Linked DNA regions of Homo sapiens: all the other regions are linked to region 2. The links are contacts of gene promoters, found by promoter capture Hi-C in blood cells and fetal thymus (Javierre and others, 2016). All regions are on one chromosome and are shown on one strand. The core of a region is centred on a gene start or on the middle of the fragment in contact, and the rest is flanking DNA. Distances in the headings are between cores, read along the strand shown.

Region 1 (3,156 bases), core at 397-2,896, 140 kb before region 2:
TTCCTGGAACCAAAGTGCGTCTTTTCCAAACTCTGTTTACAAAATTCAATTTCTTCACTCTTCAGTTCCAATACAGCTACTGACAAAGAAAAACGAGCACATTCTTTAGCAATTCCAAGGTCAAGATCATGGGACAAAAGGGCTCTGTGGTTTGTTTCTTCTTACCAATATCTTGTGCAGATGAAAAAGGGCTGGTAAATTTCCCTATAATAAGGTCGTCAAACTCATGTTTGATTCAGAGAAAAAAACTGTGGACTGTATTTTGTTTGCTTAGCCCTCATCCTAAGTAGAAAAGAATGGAAATGCTTAGAAAACTCTCCCTGGCAAGCTCTCCCTGTCTGCCCGTAACCTTCCTGAGCCTGTATTCCTTTCTCCATACCTGCTTCTCCTGGCCTCACATCTGCTGATTTATGAGCATAGGATGATGCCTTGGTGACAACAGGATATGGCTCCCTGCCTCCTAGATTTCTCTGCAATGACATTTTCTAGAAGAAGACAGTCTGTGAAGTTTACCTAGCACGATATTTTAAAAGTCCTAGATTTAGAGTCAGAATTCTAGCTGGATAAATCAACCTCGATAGCTATAGTTTCCTTATCTATATAATGGTGTTAAATATCCACATCACACAATTGAAATAAAAATTAAATTGAAAAATATAAAATATCCAGAATGGTGCTTTGTGCAAAGGAAGTTCTCTATTAATGATGGCTGAATTTGAATTCCTAAGAGAAATGGCATCTTGAACATTGATCATGTATTATTTGCAAAACTTTAAGAGAAGAGGCAATGCAAATTATCCACAAATATGTCTGTTTTCTTTCTCCAAAAGAATTGAATATATTACAATATTAGTAAACTAAACACAAATTATTTTGTCAAAATAGATGCAGACTTCCAAGCTGTATAGTTAGTAACACTATCACTGGAAAACTCACATTTTTCCCCAAAGAAACCCCTACAAGCTTTGAAATTCCAAATTCAACTATCCAGAAAATTAATATAAAGGTCAATATGGGACAGTCTTTCTAGTTGAAAATACTATTGATTTTTTTTCCACTCAACCATTTTTGAAATCTGAAAAATAGGTTAACTATATTTTAAACATTCACTTTGGTCTATCTGGTTCTTTATGGTTAAAAGTTATGGGATCTGGCCAGGCTTTTCTCTGGAATCAAGGATCATTGTCTGAGAAAGATCAAAACCACTCACTGTCTTGAGAGACTGACAGTTTGCCCTCTTCACTGAGCCTCTGCAGGGAAAACTGCATACATGTACTTTAAAAGCATTCTATTGAAGTACAACATACCTGCAGAAAAGTATGTACATCCTAAGTGTTCAGCACAACAAATTTTCACAAACTAATCACATTTACATAACCAGAAGCCAAATAAAAAATCAGGATAACAACAGGATCTCAGAAACCCCCCCAGGCTCCCTCCAGCCCTGCCCATCCAGGGGTAACCTAGCAGCATAGAGGAGTTCCACTAGTTTTTGTGTTATATAAAATGGCTCATACAGTATGTACTCTTTTTTGGTCTGGCTTTTTTCGCTCAACACCATGTCTGTGAGACTCCTCCATATTTTTGCATGTGTCTGTAGATCAGTGTAATATTTCATTGTGTGGATATATCACATTTGTTCACCTATCATGCTGATGGGTATTGGGGATTGCCCCCCACACCCAGTTTTTGACTTTTACAACTAATGCTGCAATAAGCATTTCAGTGATTGTATTTTGAGGAGCATATTGCATGTTATTTTTTTGGTTATATACCTAAAAGTGGAATTGCCAGATCAAAAAATAAGGATGCCTTTAGCTTTAGTAGATAATAAATACTAACTGTACAAAGTGGCTATTTCAAATTATACTCAACTGAAGTATGTGAGAATTCTGATTTATCCACATATTCATTAATCCTTACTATTATCAGTCTTTTTAAATATTAGCCATTCTTGTTTGTGTATAGTGATATTATATAGAAATCTCATGTGTATTTATTTTCAAATACACTTATTTGAAGGAAGAAAAAAGTGATATATCATCCTGATCCTGAAGAAGTGCAATCAGAGAAGGAATTTTTAGAATCAATAACCAAACTCCCACAGAGATGAACTACCAACATATTCACAGAGACATTTGAGCACAGCACAGCTGTGTAATATTATCCAGCTTCCTAATTTGTCCAGTCTAACAAGTAAGGTGACAGTTGATTTTTTTTAATTTGACTATTAGACTACTTATCTAGTAGTCTATTATTGTTTTTCTTGTTGATTTGCAGGAGCTTCTTGTATTTTCCAGATATTAATCCCTTACAAGTTTTAAATACCAAAAGCTTCTTATAAGCAGCCATACTTATGAATTATTTACAGTACTCATTTAATATATCTAAATTTGTGTTGTGTCCAAAATCCTTTTTCATTCTATTTCACTTATACCTTCCCGTTTTATTATTGATCAGTCTTGCAAATAAATAAGAATGCTATTTATAAAAGGATAAATGTAGTGAACCAAAGTCCTATAAATGTATCATTTCTTCTCAAAATAATTTCCAAGTTTAATACAATCAATTGAAAATATCACTAGATGATTTTTTAGAAACCTGGTACAATGATTTCAAAGTTCATCTGTATGAATAAAGATAATGGAGTAGTTAGGAAAAAAATTGAAAAATTAAAACAGTGAGAATTGACCTCACAGGTATTAAAATGCATTTGAAACTACCAAAAGAAAGAAAGAAACAGAGAATGGCATTGATTCATGACAGAACAGGAAGACCAGGATAGCAATTAAAATAATTGGAGTATATGTACTCACATACACATTAAAGGAAAATCACACAACAGCAAGAAAAGTGTAAATTATTAAATAAATGAGATTGAAAGGCAGTATAGCAAAGTGCACCATGGACTCTGGAGCCCACCTGCCTAACTCCAAATCTGGGCTCATCTATTTACTCCCATTTTTTTTTACCTAAGATAAGTCACTTAACCTCTCTGTGTCACTGTTTCCTCATTCGCAAAGTGAAGATTATTAGTTATTACATGAAAAAATGCTTTGAATAGTACCTGGCATATACAAAGTAAAGTATTTAAGTGTTAGCTATTATTTTTCTCTTTTAAGATGCCAAATTAAAGTTCTAATCATTTCCTTCTTT
Region 2 (3,618 bases), core at 800-3,299:
AATAGGAATATTTACTGTCATCTGCAAGAACATCTGGGACACCTCCTCCTTTTCCACATGAGGAATCAGGGATCCAGGGCCAAATTTCACTTTATCTTTCTTTTAGAAAGGGCTGTACCTGCTGCATGTATGTTTTAATTAAGAAAACTGAATATACAGAAATTCCAGATTTCAGAAGCAATGCTTTGATGTTCATTTGCAGTAGCTATGGATGGATTCATGAAAACAGGGGCTTCCTCAGAATCCCCTTGCACATCTATCAGCCACTCTAGTGTATACTATTGACTCACCAGTTTTGCAAAGCAAGGCACGCCTCCAATTCTGTTCTTCCCCTAATCCATTCCCACAAATAATAAAATGATTGACTGCTCAGCGTTAATCTTTCTATGAAACTTTACAGAGTAATCCTATCATTTGCCTGTTATACAGAAATCAGCTGAAAAGCATTAAGAATATTAGCGTGTTTTTCCTCCATGAAATTGCTAGAGCACAACAAACAGAGCCCCTTCTCCTGCCTCCTTTTCTCTAACAACCCCCAACAGAACACCCTACACCCAGATTCCTCTCTTTCCATGGTGAGGCTGATGGAGGCTTAGAAGGACACTTGGTATGCCCGCTCCCTCTTCCCTTTTTTATCAGTCAAAATACCAGTGAAACGGAAGTCAATACTTATTTGATTCATGGTTTTTTTTCCTTTTTAAAGCACGAATAACATTTCTTTCAAAATAAATATACAGTTCTATAAAAAAATATAAGAAGGTACTATAATTCTTGGTCACTGTCCAGCAGAAACATGTTTGATTGCTTTTAGAGTCAGAAGTCAACACCATCCACAAAAATACATTCTTTTAGCCAGGTTTTAGAACACTTTGAAACATAGAAAATTCCTTATTCTACAAACAAGTCCTTTTAGAGATATTCTAAATATGCCAGTGATGAATGTCTAATTCATATGCAGGATTCAAGGCTATTGAGGTGAGCTAGACTAAGAATACCAAGAACACAAAATTGTATTGATACACAAACAGTATGTAAATTACTTTGTCAGATTACAAAAATGCATCAGATTTTATCTATGGTTTTCATAGATAAACATAAAGCAATAAGTTAGTTGCTTTAAAAAAATATATAGCTCAGGTGTTTCTCTTCATTCAAGTGTGAAAGGCACAGCAGTCCCGAGTCTTAGGGGCACCCACCGCAGCCACATCACCGCGCTGGGACAGATGCAGTCCGCAGCGTTCCCAGTATTTTGTCCCAGTGTGTAAAGTACGGAGCGAAGTTGCAGTTAAAGTGAGAGTGATGCAGGTCGTGGTGCACCACACCCCCGTACCACCCGAAGGGCACCAGTCTGTGAGTGGACCAAGGGAAGTTGTAGCCGGAGTGGTCCTCCACGGAAAGCCAGATGTTGACCACGTGGAAGGTCAGGGTGGTGAGCGGGTGGCACCCGAGCAGTGTGACGTTCATCATGTCGAAGAAGCCCAAAGAAAACAGTTCCCAGACGCTCATATACTGCGTTGCCAGCGCGAACGAGGACGAGTTCTGGTGGTGCACCTTGTGGAAGGTGCGGTACAGCCAGGGCACCTTGTGGTGCAGCAGGTGCCACACGAAGAACTCCATGTCGAAGAGTAGCAGGCAGAACAGGATGTGGTGCAGCAGCAGGAGCAGCTCGGGAGCTTCGTGGGGCAGGAGGGCCGGGCTGCGGGCCCAATGCAGCAGCGTCACGGGGAACACAAACATCACATGCTGGTAGAGGGTCTGCCCCAGGCAAGGTAGCAGCTGCTGCGCGGATGGCGAGAAGTCAGGGTGGATCTTGTAGCGCCGCAGGGCGGGCACCCAGGAGCACAGGATATCCAGGACCACGAAGGGCAGGCAAAAGCCCACGTATGTGGTGATGGAGAAGATGACCGGGAAGAAGGGCGACTGTAGGAGGGCCTCCCAGCTCCTCAGGTGGTCCCAGAGGGGCTGCAGGAACAGCTGCCCGGAGCTGCAAAGGACCTGGGGGTCGGAGCAGTTGTGGCAGCTCATTGCGAGGCTGTGCAAGGCAGCTGAGGCTGCTGCTCGAGTCCCATCGACTTTTCACAGGACTCACGGCCCCGCCCCGAGTGATGTCAGCTGCCTTTCCATCCCTTTCCCGGCGATGCGAAGCTTGAATAAGCTAGCAACCCGGCAGAGTGGCCCTTCATTGCTGTAAATGTGCTCATCTATAGCCGCATCTTACCGGCTTTTAGATATGCGTGTATGCAGTGGCACTTCGTACTTTTCATGTAAGTTCTGATTTTTCAGTTGACGTACAATTAACACGGGACACAATGTACAGATCTACCGTGTGGAGTTTCTATGAGTTTGGCAACTCAGTTCACGTGTGTCATCACGGGTCTCAAACTAGACCGTTTACATTGCCACCAGAAAGCGCTCCTTTGCAATCAATGCAGAATTGTTTGTGTTTTTTAATGCATACGTATAACTGCATCCATGTGCTTTCATAAAGACGCAAGCATAATCGCATTTTAAAAACTGTTTAAAGCTACATGCGGTCTGTAGCTCGGGTGTTTTCTGAGAACCCGGTTGCGGTCTATCCAGCGGCGATCGAGAAACGAGCCCTTTGCACAGGGAACCGCTGGTCCCCGAACGCCGGCGGTGACCGTCAGCTCAGGAAATCAGACGGGAAGGGTGGCCGGATGGGAACCTCCGCCAGCTCCAGCTTGTCCCCAGAGTTTTCCTGGCCGGCGGGCAGCAAGCTAGAGAGACCACGCACGCAGGCTCTCCGGGAGAGGCCGCAGCCCGGCCGCGTAGCTACCCTCGGCGGCGCGTCCCGGGGCGCCGGGCCCGCGATCGGAGCCGGAGGCACCGCACAGCGGAAAGAGGGCTCCGCGGCGGCCAGGCTCAGCTTTGCCGGGAAAATGCTGGATTTAACTCCCAGTCTGCGCCAATCTGGCTAAAAAGCCCGTTGTATCTCAATTTGGGGCGGGAACACTTAATTCAGCAAACCACCTGCGTTGTTCGTCAAGGGAAAGAGATGTGAGTTCCTGAAGCCTCCCGGGAGGCTATTGAAGGACCAGGTGATGTCGTCACTACCCTACCCTTCCCCTTGTTGGCTTTGCGGGGCCAACTTGCAGTCGCCCTCTGCCACCGGTCCTTGAATCCACTCCGGGCCCACGGAGCCCGGCTAGGGGGCTAGTCTCTATCCCCTGCGTTTCTCCGCCACCCATCTGGGGTCCTCGGGCCAGGGGCCACCGAGCACAAGGAGGTCGGTACTAGGAGAGCTCTTGAGAGACCCTGGGAACAGCACAAAAATCCTCGCGTTCAACCCGGGGTCTGACACATGACACGATACAAGGGCCCCTTAGGGGATAGACGTTTTAGACACCAGCTTTGAAGCCAGGGAGCACTCCTAATTCTTGCTTAGTGTCTTGTATCTATGTGGTTGTGTCCAGCCCTTTACTCCTTGAAGCTTGCATTTTCTTATCCCCCCGATTCCCCACAAAGGGAAATTGGAGTATTAAATGGAAAAATAATAAGTCTACCGTGTAAAGCCCACCTACTAGGTGCCACGCATTGGCTAAATGTTTTATCTGAATTGATTTTATCCAATCCTCAAAAAAGCTGGCTTCCTCACCC
Region 3 (3,439 bases), core at 235-2,734, 160 kb before region 2:
TAGATTTACAATTTATGTGCTAGGTTTAAGAATAAGTGACCAGCCTGGCCAATATGGTTAAACCCTGTCTCTACTAAAAAATACAAAAATTAACCAGGCATGGTGGTGCTCACCTGTACTCCCAGCTACTCAGGAGGCTGAGGCAGGAGAATTGCTTGAACCTAGGAGGCAGAGGTTGCAGTGAGCCGAGATCGTGCCACTGCAGTCCAGCCTTGGCGACAGAGTAAGACTCTGTCAAAAAAAAAAAAAAAAAAAAAAAAAAATAAAGGAGAATAAGTTTTGGATAGTCTCCCAATATTTGAATTTAAAATGTTTGTAGTGTTTAAGAGATTGTGACATATAAAGCTTGCAATTCCTAATAAACTATGTGATTAATTTTAGAGTTTTGGAATTAAGCTGAATGTTATAAAATAATTTGCCAAAATAAATAAACTGTATTGTGTGCTTAAGGTATTTGAGATTAACTATATTTGTAAGTTAATTTATTAAGTGTATGATTAAGTATTTAGGAAAAACTTGATAGGGCTCCAAATTTTAAAGTATTTAAAAAGAAAATTGAATGTAATTAGGAATGCATTTAAAATATTTAAATAATTTAATTTACTAAATTTGTAAATAGTCTAATTTTTAAAAATTGAGGTAATTGAACACTTATCAAAGCCTCTTCCAGAAGTAATAGTTCTGATTTGTAAAACATTGACTCAATACATAAGTTTATAAGATTGACAAAAGACATAAAACCTTGAAAAAACCTAGGTTTTAAAATTTCTACTGTAATAAATGAATATTAATTTAAAACCCAGGTAGCTTCAAATAGTTTATTTAAACTTGAAAGCTTTCCTCAGAAGACAAAAACTGGAGATCAGAAACTCAATTTCCATTTTTAAAAGTATAGGAATTTCAAGTCAGAAACCATTACAATTAGAATTAACGTTCTTTTATTTATGGGGACAAGAAAAGAATAGTCTGAGAGATTTTGCAAAGACTCAAAAAATACAATAGCCGTATACACTTTTTAGGAAAAAAAAAGGTTCAAACGTAAACTTTTAATGGCAAAGAGATTTATTAAAATTAAAATATCAGGAATAAAAATGCGAATGTACATATTCCTTACAGGTCTTCATCTTTACCATCAATTTAAAACTAAAAATTCCAGACCCTGCTAGTAAGATTCTAGAGTTTGGGGGCCAGTGCTTGGCTGTGTAGTGTCTTACTTAGTTTTCCTCTTCTGCTTTATTCTCAGTACTGAGAAATGTGTTTTCTGGAAACTCATTCTTCATTCGATTAGTTGGTTGGAATCTCTTGCCATTTTTTGAGTAAAAATCATAATCATCCTACCGGTAATATTCTATTAAGTAGCTGTACATCAACAATGGCTTAGCTCTTTATACTTTTAGGTATTGGTCTGTATGAATTACAAAGAAGGGATGTATGATAACCATTTTAATTGCCAAGTAATTTGCAAAATTATTTTTTTAATAAAATGTTATACTAAGTGATTTGAATCATTGATCACATCTTACAAAAAAACACTTACAAAACACACAAAAACTTCCATTCTAAGAGTTTATCCTTGTGCCTTGAATAAAGTAGGAAGTTAAGATTTACAGCCTCAGGAAAATTAAAATGACAATTACAATACAAAATTCTAAGAAATAGGAACTTATTAAAATTGTGTGCTTAAGAGAAAAGAAAAATATATATATTTCTCTTTTTCTTTTTTTTCTTTTTTTTTTTTGAGACGGAGTTTCACTCTTGTTGCCCAAGCTGGAGTGCAATGGCACAATCTCGGCTCACTGCAACCTCCGTCTGCCGGATTCAAGCGATTCTCCTGCCTCAGCCTCCCGAGTACTGGGATTACAGGCGCGCATCACCATGCCCAGCTAATTTTTTGTACTTTTAGTAGAAACGGGGTTTCACCATGTTAGCCAGGCTGGTCTTGAACTCCTGACCTCAGGTGATCCACCAGCCTCAGCCTCCCAAAGTGCTGGGATTACATGCCTCAGCCACCGCGCCCAGCCTATTTCTCTTTTTAATTAGGAAGAAATCAATAAATAATTCAGAGACAAATATTCTCTTTCATCAACATATTTTCCATACTGTGTTCCTTTGAGGACCAAAGAATGTGTTAAGTAAGCTTAATATGTTAAAATGTTCATACTGAGTTATGTGCTGTATATGACTTTAGCTTTTTATGCATTTTGTATTATTAAATCTATCTCTCATAGCATGTATTACTTTTATAATTTGAATAAATTGACATTTAAAAATGAATATATACAACAGTCTGAATGTCATATAAGATAGCATACTTATATAAAAATATATGCCCTGCAGGAACTAACTAAAAGAGCTGCCAATGGCTAAAGCTGGAACAATTTGAGCAACAAAATAACATAGTATTGGATTATAACCTAAAGTAGAAAATAAACATCCACAAGTCCACACTGATAGAAACAGATAATTGAATAAATTAATAAATAGGGGAAAAGAGACAAATTCTCCATGCAGAAAAATTCCAAATAATTGATGTAGACACTCCCCACTCCTTAGGCATGGGCTGTGCAGGGTGACTTCCCTTGCAAAGAGATGAGAGTCAGTGGGGGTGGGGGGAAGTAACTTTACAATGGAAGAACTGAACAAACACTATCACATCCAGGTAATTGAGGCCAACATCAAAGCCATTAAGCGTGTTGATAGTATGAACCCTAGATATGATGTGGTGAGAATGGCACTTTACCTATGTGATCGTCCTTCCAAGACCCATAAACCCAGTATAATCAAGGGAAAACATTAGACAAATCCCAGTTGAGAGACATTCTACAATATACCTGACATGCAGTCCTCAAAACTCTCAAAGTCATTAAAAACAAGGAAACTGTCATAGCCAAGAAGAGCCTTAGAAGACATAACAACAAAATATAATCCAGTATCCAGGTGGGATCCTGGAACAGAATAAGACAAATGCTCCCTATTCCTGAGACCAACTCTAAATCCTGTTAATATTTAAATATGTAAATTCATGTTGATGCTGGGTGCAGGATGTTACTGTGAGGAGTGTTCCTGCTGCCAAGAACTTGGGAGTACAATAACTTGGGAAGAGTTTGTGTCTATTTTGAAAAATTTAATTGTAATACAATACTATATATTTCATATGTTTACAGTATATAGAAGTATAATATAACATTATACAATATAGTGCATTAATAAAATATTTATGTTCCCATTACCCAGGTGTAATAAATATCAGCAGTTTGTCATATTTGTTTCAAATTTTAACAAAAGAAAAAATTAAAAATATTTTCCAGAAAAAAAACACTTATAAAACACACAAAAACTTCCATTCTAAGAAGTTTATCCTTGTGCCTTGAATCAAGTAGGAAGTTAAGATTTATAGCCTCAGGAAAATTAAAATGACAATTACAATACAAAATTCTAA
Region 4 (3,461 bases), core at 414-2,913, 240 kb before region 2:
AAAGGTACTAGGCTTTATTATTCAGTGAAAATCACAAACCTTAGTGTTTACTGATGGTGCCTTAGAAAATATAAATGACAGGATTATAATGGCTGCATTGATTTGCCTTTCTACTTCTTAACTTCTTAACTTCTCTGTGTGCACACCCTTTATATGATATTTTTGCCATGCATCAGTAATCTATATTCCAAAATCTAAGACAAGTTTTGCAAATTCAGATGCCTATTGGGGCAAGGATGACTGAAAAGGCCAAGTGGTACTTCTGATAAACAGAGGACCTAGGTCTCCTGCAAGGGATTGGCCACCACTCAGCCCCATCTGTTGTTGTAATGCTAGTTCAGAGTTGCCAGATCTTCCACTTTTTATGAGAAGGTAGAAATTGTAACCTTTGTGCAAAAATCCCTTCATTTAAAATGATGGCAATTAACTAACATTTTTAAAAAAGGACAACAGGCTAAATCAATGTTTGCTGTGGGTCTTCAGTTTGTAAATTCTGATCTACAAACAATAACCAATCCAATCACAGCTCCAGTGCTTCCTGACAACCCAACCTACAGTATTTCAATAGGTAATTAAATAATAAGAAAACAAAAGTATGAAATGTCATCAAGGATTAGTGGTTTAAAAAAAGAGGAGATAGTCTCAGTTAGGATATTTCAGACAGGCATCTGCCTGCCTTACTTTGTTATCAGCTTCTTAGATGTGGTTCTGTAAGTTTTGCTTAGGAAGGAAGTAGTAACAAAAGCTCTTGGCTAATTGTCTTTGGTGACAAATACCACAGATGGTGTTATATCCCAAGTGTATGAACGTAAGAGTGTCACACACTATTTCAGTGTCTAAAATAAAAAGAAATGACCATTTTATCAGCACGTGATTACCATGATGTGGAATAAACTTCATAAGTGTATTACTCTGTTCTCATGCTGCTAATAAAGACATAACCTGAGACTGGGTAACTTATAAAGGAAAGAGGTTTAATGGACTCACAGTTCCACATGGCTGAGGAGGCCTCACAATCATGGTGGAAGGTGAAGGAAGAGCAAAGGGACTTCTTAAATGGCAGCAGGCAAGAGAGTGAGTGCAGGGGAATGCCCCATATATATATATATATATATATATATATATATATATATATATATATATATATATATATATATATAATATTTTTTTTTTTGCAAAAAGGCACATGGATGAAGCTGGAACGCCCCTTTATGAAACCATCAGATCTCATGAGACTTATTCACTGTCACGAGAACAGCACAGAAAAGACCCACCCCCATGATTCAATTACCTCCCACCAGGTCACTTCCATGACATGGGGATTATGGGAGCTACAATTCAAGATGAGACTTGGGTGGGGACACAGCCAAACCATATCAGTAAGAAAATCAGAAAATTTCCAGGATGCCAATTTTCTGGGAAGCTTTTGAGCAGCATAGGTTTGGAGCAAATGCCTACTAATGTCTTAGTGTAAATTTATTTCCAGAGATTCTCAGAGGGGAATGGAACTTACATTTATTTAATGCCTACCATGTCCCCAAGTATAGTACTTATTACATAGATAATAAGATGAATAAAGTAGTTTATTTCTTACTCGTCAGGAGTAAGTCTGACTTACTAGGAAAGGGATGACTAGAATCTCATGAGAATTTTAAATTTTTTACACTCACCTTATTTTATTTAGTCAAGACATTTTTTGTCCCTCTCCTAGAGGTCACTCTGGGAAGTTCAGCAGTTTCAGCAATGCTTACCAATGCTCAGATCTCTGGACCTATTTAAACCAATAGCAAATACTTTTGGATCACTGTAGTGTTGGCACGTCTCTGTCCCTGGAGGGTGAATTTGATTTTTGTCTGCAGCCAAATGCCATTCTCATTGGAGGCTAGTGAAGAAGGTGAGTTGACAAGCTTGGGCATTACCATTTTGGGTCAAAAAAGAAGTAGGTTCTGGAGTAATCAAACTAATATCCGTGTTTGGCTTGTAAAGAACCAGGATGGGATGTACAGTCTTTGTTTAGCTATACATTCCGGCAGGTTTTCTTAAACTTGTCTTTTTTTCTGCATGTCCACACTTTATTACAATGCTACAGTTTCTAATCCTCTTTTAGCTAGACTAAAAGGCTCTTTCCTACTTTGGCGTCTAATTTTGTATTCCTAGTTTTCCTAACAGGCCCTACCTAAGTTTAGTTCTATATTAGTTTACTTTACTTTGGTTTAGTTTCATATGTTTTTATATTTTTTTATTTTATTCTATAATTTGTGTATTTTGTTATATATTTTAGTTTACTTTAGTTTCATATATTTACTTTAGTTTAATATATTTTAGTTTAGTTTCACATATTTTGCATTGTATGGGAGGAAAAAAGAATTCTCTCTCTATTCTTCCGAATTCTTATCTGGAACCCCTGCAAAAAAAGGCAGATGAAAAAGAAAAAAGCGAACAGAAGTTTATTAACAAATAGGCTTCACGTATATATGGGAGATACCCAGGGAATGAGCAATTCTCAAAGAAGTGGCTTAGAACTCTGGTTTATGTGGCATCATCAACAAAGAACAACACATTGGTGGGGAAGTAACAAGACAAGGGGAAAGGATCTTGAGTTTCTAGGGGTGGCAAATTGTGGGAAAACAAATACATGGGAAACTAATGATAGACAAAAGGTTATATAGTAAAGTCTGTTATGTAGATTTCCCTGTGCCATCTTCAGGCAAGCAAGGGCCTAAGGTCATCCCTGGTGATCAACCTTTGTCCTTCTTGGTAGAGAGGGAAGGAGGGACACCTTTATAAGTGTATGTCCTGCTTTTAAGCAAATAGGGGTAGGGCAGAGAGATTTTTTGTATCTACTTCTCGATTGCTTTCAACCCAAAATAATCCTTATGCCAGAGAGGCATATTTTGGGGTGGCATATTCAGCTACCCTTCAGCAAAAAGTATCTACATATCTTGTACCAACTGGTCTCCTTCCCTGTTTGCAGCTGTACAAATTAAGGTATTATGAAAGCATGGTCATTCAAAGGAGGCACCCGTTCTGCTGCTCCTTTGTAACTTTCTTTTGCCCGCCTGTTTTTCCTCTGCCCTCCTGTTTGCTGCTCCTTTGCAACTTTCACTCCAAGCTTTACAAACATTTTTAGTGTCTTAAGTTTCCTCCTTCCCCACAACACACAAATTCATATAGTCCAGCCCTGTGTATTCTATTTCCAGAGCCGGGGATAGCTTCCCTTTTCTTCTTCTGCCAAATCATGTTTCTGCCTTATTTTAAAAGTCTACTCAAAATTCATCTACAGCAAACCTTCTTAGATGCATTTTTTCTACAGGGAGAATGCTCCAATCACTCCAGTGATTTCATCAGCACACTTACTTGATGTAAGCTCTTATATTTTCTCACATTTGCAGTATATTCACCATTAGGTTGTAAACTTTTGGAGGCAGCCAGTGTGTTCATTTTTCCCTTAGGGCACCCTG

Evidence for each region. Contacts are between HindIII fragments. The CHiCAGO score rates a contact against its expected background, and 5 or more counts as called.
Region 1: a contact is called between a fragment that was not itself captured here and the fragment with the promoter of CH25H in region 2, in 5 of 17 cell types (M2 macrophages, M1 macrophages, M0 macrophages and 2 more). The highest score is 8.7, in M2 macrophages.
Region 3: a contact is called between a fragment that was not itself captured here and the fragment with the promoter of CH25H in region 2, in 16 of 17 cell types (M2 macrophages, megakaryocytes, M1 macrophages and 13 more). The highest score is 16.3, in M2 macrophages.
Region 4: a fragment that was not itself captured here is called in contact with the fragment with the promoter of CH25H in region 2 in 3 of 17 cell types (naive CD4 T cells, total CD8 T cells and activated CD4 T cells); the score reaches 6.6 in naive CD4 T cells.

Annotation. Positions count from the first base shown.
Region 1 is chr10:89,064,892-89,068,047 of GRCh38, forward strand. No RefSeq gene overlaps it. Among named protein-coding and RNA genes, the nearest start is that of MIR4679-2, 3.1 kb to the left of the region's middle. The HindIII fragment of the contact is 1,371 bases long and covers 962-2,332 here.
Region 2 is chr10:89,205,268-89,208,885 of GRCh38, forward strand. CH25H (cholesterol 25-hydroxylase) reads right to left here and starts at 2,050. Exons shown (of 1, transcript NM_003956.4): 1 at 362-2,050. The coding sequence starts at 2,025. The coding sequence ends at 1,207. RefSeq lists an enhancer at 1,822-1,891. The HindIII fragment of the contact is 3,745 bases long and covers 1-2,143 here.
Region 3 is chr10:89,048,784-89,052,222 of GRCh38, forward strand. No RefSeq gene overlaps it. Among named protein-coding and RNA genes, the nearest start is that of MIR4679-1, 13 kb to the right of the region's middle. The HindIII fragment of the contact is 1,302 bases long and covers 834-2,135 here.
Region 4 is chr10:88,961,818-88,965,278 of GRCh38, forward strand. It overlaps a transcript of ACTA2 not described here and a transcript of FAS not described here. Among named protein-coding and RNA genes, the nearest start is that of ACTA2, 11 kb to the left of the region's middle. The HindIII fragment of the contact is 484 bases long and covers 1,422-1,905 here.